Regions from separate parts of the Homo sapiens genome. Here region 1 is linked to region 2. Evidence: promoter capture Hi-C in 16 types of primary human blood cells and fetal thymus (Javierre and others, 2016). All regions are on one chromosome and are shown on one strand. The core of a region is centred on a gene start or on the middle of the fragment in contact, and the rest is flanking DNA. Distances in the headings are between cores, read along the strand shown. Region 1 overlaps AGO4 (argonaute RISC component 4). Region 2 holds the start of TEKT2 (tektin 2).

Evidence for each region. The method cuts DNA at HindIII sites, captures the fragments that hold promoters and counts their contacts. A CHiCAGO score of 5 or more calls a contact.
Region 1: a fragment that was not itself captured here is called in contact with the fragment with the promoter of TEKT2 in region 2 in 1 of 17 cell types (erythroblasts); the score reaches 5.7 in erythroblasts.

Annotation. Positions count from the first base shown.
Region 1 is chr1:35,821,177-35,827,716 of GRCh38, forward strand. AGO4 (argonaute RISC component 4) reads left to right here. Exons shown (of 18, transcript NM_017629.4): 3 at 1,686-1,806; 4 at 4,137-4,318; 5 at 4,503-4,639; 6 at 4,750-4,884; 7 at 5,572-5,659. Among named protein-coding and RNA genes, the nearest start is that of AGO4, 16 kb to the left of the region's middle. The HindIII fragment of the contact is 883 bases long and covers 4,235-5,117 here.
Region 2 is chr1:36,079,381-36,086,082 of GRCh38, forward strand. It overlaps TEKT2 (tektin 2), which reads left to right and starts at 4,714. Exons shown (of 10, transcript NM_014466.3): 1 at 4,714-4,769; 2 at 5,490-5,697; 3 at 5,783-5,908; 4 at 6,456-6,661. The coding sequence starts at 5,542. It also overlaps the pseudogene LOC100128093. RefSeq lists an enhancer at 5,284-6,082. The HindIII fragment of the contact is 20,325 bases long and covers 1-6,702 here.

The DNA.
Region 1 (6,540 bases), core at 3,426-5,925, 260 kb before region 2:
TGGTCAGAATTTAAGAATGTAAGATGAGAAATTACTCTTTTCTAGTATGAAAACGTATAGTTCTTAAGTTAGCTCTTTAAAATGGAGATTGTACGATACCACGTCTCTCCATCAATTTTTTTCAGTCACATGATTTGGTTTGTAAACATGACTTTCCCACAGATTTCATTTGTAGTAATATAAATGTGTTAGCTAGTTGTGATGTATTTTGGCTTTTAAGATATTGTTCCCACACATGAAACTCACAAACGTTGCTAAGTTAAAGCACCTAACTTTTCATTGACTCTAGCATTCAAAAATCTCACAAACCCTGGTCTGTCCATATCTTAAACTCTATACACCAGTTTTTTTGCCACTGCATTTATTCCACGGCCTGCATACAGTGTGATCTGGCATATATGCAAGAACACTTAAGTAAAGTTCTGCATGCTTGATTGAGAAAAAGACTTTTATTCTAAAAACAAAGAAGCTATATTAATAATCTTTTTGGAAAGAGAATATTTTACAACATTCCCTTGTCTACACTGCTTGGAATAAGCACTTTGAAATAAGACAAGCACTTTGGAATAAGACAAGACGGTATACAGAATAATAAATCACTGGCATTAGGCAAAGGGGTTGACTTATTTGTGTATCATGGATCTTAGATTTACTGATCCTCAGATTTTTAAATTCCTGCTGATTCTCTTTCTCAAAACCAATATACTTGAATAAGGATTTTTTTTTTTTTTGACAGAGTTTTACTCTGTTGCCCAGGCTGGAGTACAGTGGAACGATCTCAGCTCACTGCAACCCCTGCCTCCTGGGTTCAAGCGATTCTCGTGCCTCAGCCCCCCAAGTACCCGGGATTACACCATGCCTGACTAAGTTTTCTATTTTTTTTAGTTGAGACTGGGTTTCACTGTGTTGGCCAGGCTAGTCTCGAACTCCTGACCTCAAGTGATCCACCTGCCTCGGCCTCCCAAAGTGCTGGAATTGCAGGCATGAGCCACCACGCCCAGCCAGGATATTGATTTGATGACAAACTTATCATCGTTCAGTGATGTACCTCCGTGTCAAACTTAGATATCCAAGATAGGTTATTCTTTTTTTTCTTGAGACAGAATTTCACTCTTGTTGCCCAGGATGGAGTGCAATGGCACGATCTTGGTTCACCACAACCTCCGCTTCCCAGGTTCAAGCGATTCACCTGCCTCAGCCTCCTGAGTAGCTGGGATTACAGGCACGTGCCACCATGCCGGCTAATTTTGTATTTTTAGTAGAGACAGGGTTTCACTGTGTTGGTCAGGCTGGTCTCGAACTCCTGACCTCAAGTGATCCACCCACCTCAGCCTCCCAAAGTGCTGGGATTACAGCCGTGAGCCACCACACCCAGCCAGGTTATTCTTATAAGGCTGTGTTTATCACAGGAGAGGATTTTGGAAAGAGGAGGTTGAGAGGATACCATAAATGTTATTCTCTCTTTTATTCCCCATTTCTGATATCATCTTACAGTTGTTTTTGTACACTTGTTGCTACCTTTCTTTAGTTAACTATTTTTTAAAGTACTCGAATCAATTGTAACCTTAACTCTTACTTTTTCCAAGTAATACTGAACCGAATTTAAATGATTAAAGTATGATGATGCTTTTCTTACTGTTCACCATTTCTGAAAGCTAACTGCCATTATCTCCATTACTGTGAAGGGAGGTAGTAGATACAATGGTGCGGCACTTCAAGATGCAAATATTTGGTGATCGGCAGCCTGGGTATGATGGCAAAAGAAACATGTACACAGCACATCCACTACCAATTGGACGGGATAGGGTAAGTGTTAAGAGCAAGAAATACTTAGTTCATTTAGTAGTAATTATACATGACAAAAATATTTCCTTTTCTTCCCAACACACACAAAAAACATAAATGTTTGAGGTGATGATATCCTAATTAACCTGATTTCATTATTACACATTGCATACAGATATCAAAATATCACATGTACCCCAAAAGTATGTACAACTGTCATATATCAATTTTAAAAAATCTGTATGTGAGCAGAAACAAAAGTTTCTGTAATAACACATCAATTCTTAGAAATTTTTTTTTTTTTTTTTTGAGATGGGATCTCGCTCTGTCACCCAGGCTGGAATGCAGTGGTTTGGTCTCCACTCACTGAAACCTCTGCCTCCCAGATTCAAGTGATTCTCCTGCCCCAGCCTTCCAAGTAGCTGGGATTACAGGCATGTGCCACCACACCTGGCTAATTTTTATTTTATTTTTTTCCTTGAGAGACGGAGCCTTGCTCTGTTGCCCAGGCTGGAGTGCAGTGGCGCGATCTCGGCGCAGTGCAACTTCCACTTCCTGGGTTCAAGCGATTCTCCGGCCTCAGCTTCCCAAGTATCTGGGACTATAGGCGTGTGCCACCACGCCCAGATCATTGTTGTATTTTATTAGTAGAAATGGGGGTTTCACTATATGTTGGCCAGGCTGGTCTCGAACTCCTGACCTCAGGTGATCCACCCGCCTCAGCCTCCCAAAGTGCTGGGATTACAGGCATGAGCCACTGCGCCTGGCCTTAATTTTTATTATTATTATTATTTTTTTTTTTAGTACAGATGGGGTTTCACCATGTTGGACAGGCTGGTGTCAAACTCCTGACCCCAGGTGATCCACCATCTCAGCCTCCCAAAGTGCTGGGATTACAGGCATGAGCCACCACGCCCAGCGAGAGTTGTTTTTTATAGTGATGATAGATTTGTTATTCTGTCCATATTCTCTTGTCTTAGTTAACTGATAATTGAAAATGAGATGAGCATTAGGATTGAGGTTGATTATGTCATCTTTACGTAATTTCTCACATTAACCATGTACTTTAACAAAGTACTACCTGAATCTGAACAACAGAGTTTTATAAATTATAGAAAACTATATAATACTCACTTATGAAAATAGATTATAATAGCACAATACTTTTTTAAACATTTATTTTTTTTAAATTAGAAAAGTACTGTGTGAACATATGCTCATAATAAATTTATCCAGACAATCTAGAAATGCTGTGATTTACCGCCTCCACCACTTATCTGCACCCTCACTACCATTTTCCTTTCCAAAGGAAACTACTATAGTAGTTTGGTATGTATCTTTTTAGATATGTTATGTATATTAGCTGCTATTTATACATATGTTGATGTGTATTCTTATTGTTTTGCATGTCACTCTATGATTTGCTTTTCATTTAACAATATGCCTGAAAGATCTTTCCATTTCTATACATTTATATCTACCTTATTATTTTTTTTCAAATTTAAGTTTTTATTGTTGTAAAATAATATATAACATAAAATTTACTATTTTTGGCTGGGTGTAGTGCTTCACCCAGCCAAAAATCCCAGTGCTGTGGGAGATCGAGGTGGGAGAATTGCTTGAGGCCAGTAGTTTGAGACCAGCCTGAGCAACACAGGGAGACCCATCTCTACAAAAAAAAAATTTCTAATTAGCCAGGCATGGTGGTGTGCACTTGTAATTCCAGCTACTTGGGAGGCTAAAGTGGGAGGATCCCTTGAGCCCAGGACTTTGAGGCTACAATAAGTTATTATTGCACCACTGCACTCCAGCTTGGATGACAGAGCAGGACCCTGTCTCAAAAAAAACTTATGATGTTATGTTACAGTTTAATGGCATTATGTATGTTCACATTGTTGTGCATCCATCATCACTATCCATTTTCAGAACTTTTTCATCATTCCAAACGAAAACTCTGTACCTATTAAACAATAATTCCCCATACCCTACTGTCCCTGGTCCCTGAGAACCACTATTCTACTTTCTGTCCCTTTAAATTTGACTATTCAATGTACTTCATAGAAATAGAATCATGAAATATTTGTCTTTTTGTATCTGGCTTGTTTCATTTAGCATAATGTTTTCAAGCGTCATCCATGTTATAACATCTACCTTATTTTTTCACTATTGTATAATGTTACATATTAAATTATACCCCTACTCATGGACACTAAGTTGTTTCCAATGTTACACAATTGTAAAAAAAAGTTAAAAGAAATATCCTTATGCATGTATCATACTGCATATTCTTGGGATCTTTCCCACAGCCATTGTAAACATTTGTGTTTGTATTCATGTATTTTTTTCCTTAGGTTGATATGGAGGTGACTCTTCCAGGCGAGGGTAAAGACCAAACATTTAAAGTGTCTGTTCAGTGGGTGTCAGTTGTGAGCCTTCAGTTGCTTTTAGAAGCTTTGGCTGGGCACTTGAATGAAGTCCCAGATGACTCAGTACAAGCACTTGATGTTATCACAAGACACCTTCCCTCCATGAGGTTAGTACCTTGGTTTGGATTATTTCCTACAAATGTCAGACTTTTTTGGTAGGTTGTACTGGAGCCATTGAAAAATTTCTGCATAAGTCATTGTTCAAATTTGATTTCAGCTCCCAGAGTTGAGAGTGAAATGAAGGACCTTTCACATGTTTAATGTGACACATGCAAACTCTTATTTCTTCAGGTACACCCCAGTGGGCCGTTCCTTTTTCTCACCCCCGGAAGGTTACTACCACCCTCTGGGAGGGGGCAGGGAGGTCTGGTTTGGTTTTCATCAGTCTGTGAGACCTGCCATGTGGAATATGATGCTCAACATTGATGGTAGGATGGAACTCTCTTTATCCAATAACTCTTTGGGCTGGTTTTTGTTTGTTTGTTTGTTTTGGCCCTTCCCTTTTCCCTGAAGTGAAGTATCCTTCTCTGTTTGTTAGTATCTGCAACTGCTTTCTACCGGGCTCAGCCTATCATTGAGTTCATGTGTGAGGTTTTAGACATTCAGAACATCAATGAACAGACCAAACCTCTAACAGACTCCCAGCGTGTCAAATTTACCAAAGAAATCAGAGGTAAGTGTTTGCATTAATGTAGTCTTGGAGAAGCAGCTCAGCATGCTGCACGTTGCCTGTGCTCTGGAGTCACACAGACCTGGGCTTCGGTCTCAGGCTAACCACTTCTATCAATGGGACCTTGGTCAAGTTCCTTAACCACTGTGAACCTTAGTGTATTCATCTCTAAGGTAAAGATAATAATATATACCTTGTAGAGTTGTTGTGAGAATTAAATGCAATTAGGCTTATAAAGCTTTCTAGCATAGTACCTGTCACATATCAGGCACTCAGTAAATGCTATGCTTACCCACTTAAGAACTTCCATTTTAATAAAATAACATAAATTCATTTATTATCCTTCTGGGATTTCTTTTCTTCTTGTTATTAGTTAGTTTCCCTCACTAGAATATAAACTTCACGAAAGCTGTCTCCAGACCTGAAAATAAGCATCAGAACATAGTTGATGCTTAATAAATATTTATTGGATGAAATAATAAACTAAAGGAGATTGAGCATCTTAGGTAATCTGAGTTCTAATTTATTCTGCTTAACTCAGGTTTTTTGCCTATAACGATGAAATTGTCCCCATATTCTTGCAATTTTTATCCTGTACAATGTCATGACATTTTGAAGACAACATTTGAATCTGTTTTTGCCACTGTGATTTTAATTAACTGATGTTTTGCCTTTTAAAAAAAATTTCAGGTCTCAAAGTTGAGGTGACCCACTGTGGACAGATGAAACGAAAATACCGAGTTTGTAATGTGACTAGACGGCCAGCCAGTCATCAAACGTATGTTAACCACATCTAAAGTAATACAATTACATTTTTAGTAACAGAGGGAGCTACTATAATTGTTTTAAGAAATTGGTTATTGGCCGGGCACAGTGGCTCACACCTGTAATCCCAGCACTTTGAGAGGCCGAGGTAGGTGGATCATGAGGTCAGGAGTTCAAGACCAGCCTGGCCAAGATGGTGAAACCCCATCTCTACTAAAAATACAAGAAAACTAGCTGGGCGTGGTGGCGGGTACCTGTAACACCAGGTACTCGGGAGGCTGAGGCAGAGAATTGTTTGAACCTGGGAGGTGGAGGTTACAGTGAGCCGAGGTCACACCACTGCACTCCAGCCTGGGCAACAGAGCAAGACCCTGTCTCAAAAAAAATTAATAAATAAAAAGAAATTGGTTATCTTGGCCAGGCATGGTGGCTCACACCTGTTATCTCAGCACTTTGGGAGGCCGAGCCAGGCAGATCACTTGAAGTCAGGCGTTCGAGACCAGCCTGGCCAACATAGTGAAACCCCGTCTCTACTAAAAACTACAAAAATTAGCCAGGCTTAGTGGCAGGCGCTTGTAATCCCAGCTGCTTGGGAGGTTGAGGCAGGAGAATCGCTTGAACCCAGGAGGCAGAGTTTGCAGTGAGCCAAGATCACACCTTGTACTCCAGCCTGGGTGACAGAGTGAAACTCCATCTCAAAAGAAAAAAAGAAAGAAATTGGTTATCTTATACTGAAATTTTCAAGATCACGAGAATCTTTGCTTTTAACACCAAAGTTTTAAAACATTTTCTGAATATTTTTGGTAGAGGTATTTATAAAACACATTCCTTGCCTTTAATTCAATTTACCTCTTAAGTAGAGTATGTTAAACATAGATTAACTTTTATTTAATC
Region 2 (6,702 bases), core at 3,464-5,963:
GCACTTTGGGAGGTCAAAGGGGTGGATCACTTGAGATCAGGAGTTCAAGACCAGCCTGGCCAACATGGCAAAACCCCGTCCTTACTAAAAATACAAAAAGGTAGCCGGGCGTAGTGGCACACGCCTGTAGTCCCGGCTACTCAAGAGGCTGAGGCAGGAGAATCGCTTGAACCCAGGAGGCGGAGGTTGCAGTGAGCTGAGATTGTGTCACTGATCTCCAGTCTGAGCAACAGAGGGAGACCTTGCCTCAAAAGAAAAAGAAAAAAGATTATTTTTTGGCTGGGCGCAGTGGCTCACGCCTGTAATCCCAGCACTTTGGGAGGCCGAGGTGGGCGGATCATGAGGTCAGGAGATCAAGACCATCCTGGCTAACATGGTGAAACCCCATTTCTACTAAAAATACAAAAAAATTATCCAGGCCTGGTGGCAGGCGCCTGTAGTCCCCGCTTTTTGGGAGGCTGAGGCAGGAGAATGGCGTGAACCCAGGAGGCGGAGCTTGCAGTGAGCCAAGATTGCACCACTGCACTCCAGCCTGGGCAATAGAGTGAGACTCCATCTCAAAAAAAAAAAAAAAAAAAAGAAAAGAAAAAAGATTATTTTTCATATTAGAATAAGATCAGCTGACCAAATATTAATATTAACTAAGGTACTTTTAAACATTGTAAAACATTGTTCTGATTCGATGAAAGTTGTACTCTCTAAAGATTTTAATAATTGGACTTGAGGTAATCTATAACACTCGGGGAGAAAAATTAAGAACAGAGAAGATACATACCATAATACTTGACAGATTTTGAAAGCACTTAAAGCACTTATGGTCTCTTTTGGTGAAATCTCAATTACTTTAAAAAGCTATGAGTTTGCATTTTTCTGCTTCACATTTTTTTTTTCAAATTTCTTGCTTCATTGTCTATGTCTGTAGGATCCTTTTTAATCCCAGACAAAGCTGTATGGATAGTCAGGTACTTTAAATCTAAAGAGGGAAAGCAGCCGACTGAAGAATATGGCAACAAGACACATACCAGCCAGACACATCATCTTTCTCTTTCTGATGTTCATCGTAGAGGTGGCAGCCTTGTCTAACAGCACCATTCCCAGGCTAACACACATATTAAACAGGGAAATAATGAATGTTTCTGCTGCAAACTGAGCCTGACTAAATTTACTGATATAATGTTTATGTCCTGTGTGAGGGTCCCTTTGGACATATGGTTCTCCTCTTATATAAGTCCACATTTGACCAGACGTCATCACAATCACAAAGCACAGAGTTAAAACTTCGCACAAAATTCTGCAAGAAATAGATTTCCTATTCCATTTCAAGAAATACCCAAGTCCACCAATGAGAGCCAGAAGTATCCCTGGCTTGAGGAGACCATGATAATTTATTTGTAGGCTGTCTGATTCTGACGCTGACATGTGTTCTTTCTGCTACCCATTCAGCCATTTGGTCAGCAACAATATCCCTTCCTCTCAAATTATAAATGTCATCTGTTGTAAATTTCCATTGGGCAGAAAAGTGGAAGAAACTCGGAACTGACGTTACCTGGAGCGCTTCAAAGACCTCAGGGCTTTCATCATAATCCACCATTGCAAAAAATACCTTTGTGGTGAATGCACCAGGGCGTTGATAGGAATTTGCCAAGATCTGAAATTCTTCAGCAGCACCTTTGCACATGACACATGAACTGAACGCGTGGAGAGCAGCAGTAAGCATCACAATAACAGAATAGTTTTTTGGTGCATCTAATACAAAATGATAGAACATGGTGTCACTCATTCTTATCACTCTGTCTTTCTTGGTCCAACCCATCAGCTGGCTGACCTTTTTGGCCAACCCCTTCTTCCATCGGGAAGGATGTGTAGGAACCCCGGGAGCCACGAATAACAGGGCCACCACTATGGTCAAAAGTAGACGCCAAAGCCACCACACTTCTGCCATATTTGCTTACTTCTTTGTGTTATACCACTGTTGCAAAATATGTAAGCCAAAATTTGATCATTTCTTCCTGCAATTAATTTGTCCAAGATTTTTTTCTTTCTATCTTCTTCAATCCTGGTAAAGAGGCTATATCACAAATTCTTGTTCATGTCCAGTTTACAAGTCATATATTAGAGTTTACAAAATAACCTGTGGAAAAAAATACTCTGTAATGAAGGGAGTTTGGGAATTAGTGTTCTGGCTTCAGTCCTGCTGAACGACAGACTTGCAATTAACAAGTCAGGCCGGGCATGGTGGCTCACGCCTGTAATCCCAGTACTTTGGGAGGCCAAGCTGGGCAGATCACCTGAGTTTGAGTTTGAGACCAGCCTGGCCAACATGGTGAAACCCCGTCTCTACTAAAAATATAAAAATTAGCCAGGTGTGGTGGCGCATGCCTGTAGTCCCAGTTATTCGGGAGGCTGAGGCAGGAGAATCACTTGAACCCGGGAAGGAGAGGTTGCAGTGAGCCAAGATCATGCCACTGCACTCCAGCCTGGGCAACAGAGTAAGACTCTGTCAAAAAAAAAAAACCAAATAAAACAAAACAAAAAAAAACAACCCCAATGCCTGCTAGGCAGCAGCTGGATCCACTGTGTACACCTCAAACTGCTCAAAAACTGCTCAAAAGCCAACCTCATCCCCCAATTGCCTACCAAGCCCTTGCTTCTCTACTGTTCTTCCCATCCCCCCAGTGACGTTTTACAACTGAAGGACCCTTCTGGGACTTCTTTCCCCCTGGGCCCAACTGCCTGGGTTTCAATCCAGGCTGTACCACTTGTTAGTGATGTGACCTGGGCACGTCCTCACTGGCCTATGCCTCAGTCTCCCTGCCTATAAAGTGAAGATGGTAACAGTACCCACCTCATAGGATCCGGTTCAGCAGAGTCCTCAGAACAGGACCAGGCCTGCACACCTGTCTTCCTCTCTATCCCAGCCCCCCATGAGAGGCAGTGTGGAGCACAGCAGAGTGTCCTCTGGGTGGGGCCAGAACACCTGGGTTTCCCTCCCTGCTTTTTAGCAGTGTGTCTCTTTTGTTACCTAAGAAAGTGGGGACAATGCCCACCTCACCTATTAGTTGTGAAGATTAAATGTTAATATTTTTCCAACCCCTAGAAATACTAGGCAATACCAGACAATACAGTACTAGACAATAAGACAAACATGATTTTTTTTCCCTTCTTTTTTTAAAGAAATGGTTGAATATTGAGCATTGCTTCTCTGGTTTTTTTGTGTTTTGTTTTGTTTCATTTTGTTTTTTGAGACAGAGTCTCGTTCTGTTCCCCAGGCTGGAGTTCAGAGGCGTGTTATCAGCTCACTGCAACCTCCGCCTCCCAGGGTCAAGTAATTCTCCTGCCTCAGCCTCCCGAGTAGCTGGGATTATAGGCGTGTGCCACCAGAGCATTGCTTCTCATACCCCAGTTACCTCTCTCAGGGTTGTGCCCTCTCCAAACATGATTATCATCCCTTTATCATTCCTTGTATGACCTTCAAGATGGGCAAAGTTGTTGGGCAAGACAGAATAGAAGAAATGTTGTAAACAACATTAACTATCCATCCATTGCTGGAGGGGACCTGCTGGGGAGTGCACCTGATTTTAATTTTAATTAATTAATCTATTTTTTGAGATGGAGTCTCACTCTGTCACCCAGGCTGGAGTGCAGTGGCACCACCTCAGCTCACTGCAACCTCTGCCTCCAGGCTCAAGTGATTCTCCTGCCTTAGCCTCCCAAGTAGCTGGGATTACAGGCACCTGCCACCACACCTGGCTAATTTTTGTGTTTTTAGTAGAAACAGCGTTTTACCACGTTGGCCAGGCTGGTCTCCAACTCTTGACCTCAGGTGATCCACCTGCCTCAGCCTCCCAAAGTGTTGGTATTACAGGCGTGAGCCACCTTGCCTGGCCAAATTTTGTATTTTTTGTAGAGATGGGGTTTCGCCATGTTGCCCAGGCTGGTCTCCAACTCCTGGACTCAAGCGATCCACCTGGTCTCGGCCTCCCAGAGTGCTGGGATCTCAGGCCTGAGTCGCTGCGCCCAGCCTACTTTTTCTATGTACTGTTCGTTTGCTGGCAACTACTATGTTTCTGAGGCTGACCTCGAAATCCTAGCCTCAAGCGCTCCTCCCGCCTGGGTCTCTGGAGTAGCTGGGATTACAAGCGTGAGCCACTGCACTTGGTTTCGTATTTTCTATCATGTCTATGCATACCTTTATCAAAATAAAATTGTTTAGGCCGGGGCAGTGACACATCTGTAATCCCAGCATTTTGGGAGGTTGTGATGGGTGGATCGCCTGAGGCCAGGAGTTTGAGACCAGCCCGGGCAAAATGGTGAAACCCTGTCTCTACTAAAAATTTTTTTTTTAATTTAGCCAGGTGTGGTGGCACGCGCCTGTGGTCCCAGCTAACTCGGGAGGCTGAAGTGGGAGAATCGCTTCAGTCGGGGAGGTTCAGGCTGCAGTGAGCCGAGACTGAGCCACAGCACTCCAGCCTGGGCGACAGAGCGAGATCCTGTCTGAAAAGACAACAAATGTTCATTTAATTTGTAAATCAAGTGAAAGCGCTGCCCTGATGCCCCCCACCTCTCCCAGGCTCGGCCGGCCGCCCCTCGCCTACCCTAAAGGCCTCCGGGGACGCCGCCCGACGCCGCCGCGGTTGCCAAGCGAAGCGCCCAGGCCGCGTTGGCCGCGGGGGGTTGGGGGGGTAGGGGAGGGGTGGTTGCCTAGCAACCGGTGGTGCCAAACACTGGAGCTCAGAGCGGGGGGCGCGGAGAGCGAAGCGGGAAAGGAGGTAAGGGAGCTAGGGAAGCGGGGGCGCCCCCTTCCTCCGCGCTGGACCGGGGTACTGATCTAAACCAAAGGCGATCATCCTGCGGAGGGGAAGAAAGGGGTTTGACGGGGAACCGGACTGACCCCAGCTCTTCCCACGGGGCTCTCCCTGTCCGGCCTTCCCCTCCAACAGTAGGCGAGGGCGGAGGGGCGGGAGGGCGTGGCGGCTACCAGACGGGGAGGGGGCCGCCCCGGGGGCCGCCCCCCAGCTCCCCAGTGCCAACAGGCACGCGTCCCTGGAGACAGAACAGGGCTCCTGCCCTTAGATCCCCCACGGGGACTGGCCCGCAGCCTGGGGAAGAAAGGAAAGGAAGATCAACAAGGCATGGTTGGCTGGGGGCAGGTGTGGAAAATGCATTAAGGGCAATTTTTTTCTGCCATCCGCCTACCCCCCAGGCATTTGGCACTTCACACACACTTCGAGGCTTCCGGGACTCCATTATTCCTTTTTACCTGCTCCAGGACCTGCAAGGTCCAGGGGTTTGTGTCCGCCTGGGGACGGGAGGGAGGGAAACTTAGTTAATACCTCACACAAAGTTGAGTAAAGCAAGGGCTGTCTCCAAGCAGGCTTCCAGCAGGACAGGGCTCAGAGCAAAATGGACAGGAACAAGTCCTGCGCAGGGGGCGTGTGATCCAGGAGGTCTCCGGAAAGGTCTCCCGCAGCAGTGTTTTCCCTCTGCAGGTGGTGTCTGTGAACAGGCCTAGGGGTTTCTGACCCTTCTGGTTTCTGTGCCATGGCCACGCTGAGCGTCAAGCCAAGTCGGCGCTTCCAGCTGCCCGACTGGCACACTAACAGCTACCTGCTATCCACCAATGCCCAGCTGCAGCGAGATGCTTCCCATCAGATCCGCCAGGAGGCCCGGGTGCTCCGCAACGAGACCAACAACCAGGTTGGGGATGGGAACTCAGCTGGGTGGGCAAAGGGATAGCCCCCAACCCCTTGACACCCTCTCTATCTGGCTCTGTCTCTCTCAGACCATTTGGGATGAACATGACAACAGGACTCGACTGGTGGAGAGGATTGATACTGTCAACCGGTGGAAGGAGATGCTGGACAAGTGTCTGACAGATTTAGATGCCGAGATCGATGCCCTGACACAGGCAGGGATCCAGGACTGGGTGCCCGGGGGCTGCTGCCGAAACCTCCCCTCCTTCCCCACAGCTAGGTTGAGAAGCCCTTGATGGGGGGTCATGAGTGGCATGTCCATCCGAGTCACTGGCCCCCTGCTAAAGTGGGGACAAGCGCTACTTCCCCATGGATGGCCCCACCAGCACCCCCGCCCACTCTTTTCTTTTCTTTTTTTTTCTTTCTTTCTTTTCTTTTTTTTTTTTTTTTTTTTTTTTTGAGACAGCATCTGGATCTGTTGCCCAGGCTGGAGTGCAGTGGTGTGATCGTGGCTCACTGCAACCTCCGCCTCCTGGGCTCAAGCGATTCTCCTGCCTCAGCCTCCTGAGTAAAGTAGCTGGGACTACAGGCGTGCGCCATCACTCCCAGCTAATTTTTGTATTTTTAGTAGAGACGGGGTTTCACCATTTTGGCCAGGCTGTTCTCGAACTCCTGACCTCAAGTGTTCCATCCAACTCGGCCTCCCGAAGTGCTGGGATTACAGATGTGAGCCACCGTGCCCGGCCGCGCCCTCTTTTCTAGATGAAGGAGTCAGCAGAGCAAAACCTGCAGGCCAAGAACCTGCCTCTGGATGTGGCCATTGAGTGCCTGACCCTGCGGGAAAGCCGGCGAGACATTGATGTGGTGAAGGACCCTGTGGAGGATGAGCTGCATAAAGAGGTGGAGGTCATCGAGGCCACCAAGAAGGCCTTGCAACAGAAGGTCAGCCAGGCCTTCGAGCAGCTCTGGTAAGGGAGAGGCAGGTCGTCCGCATGTTCATGGGCCCCTG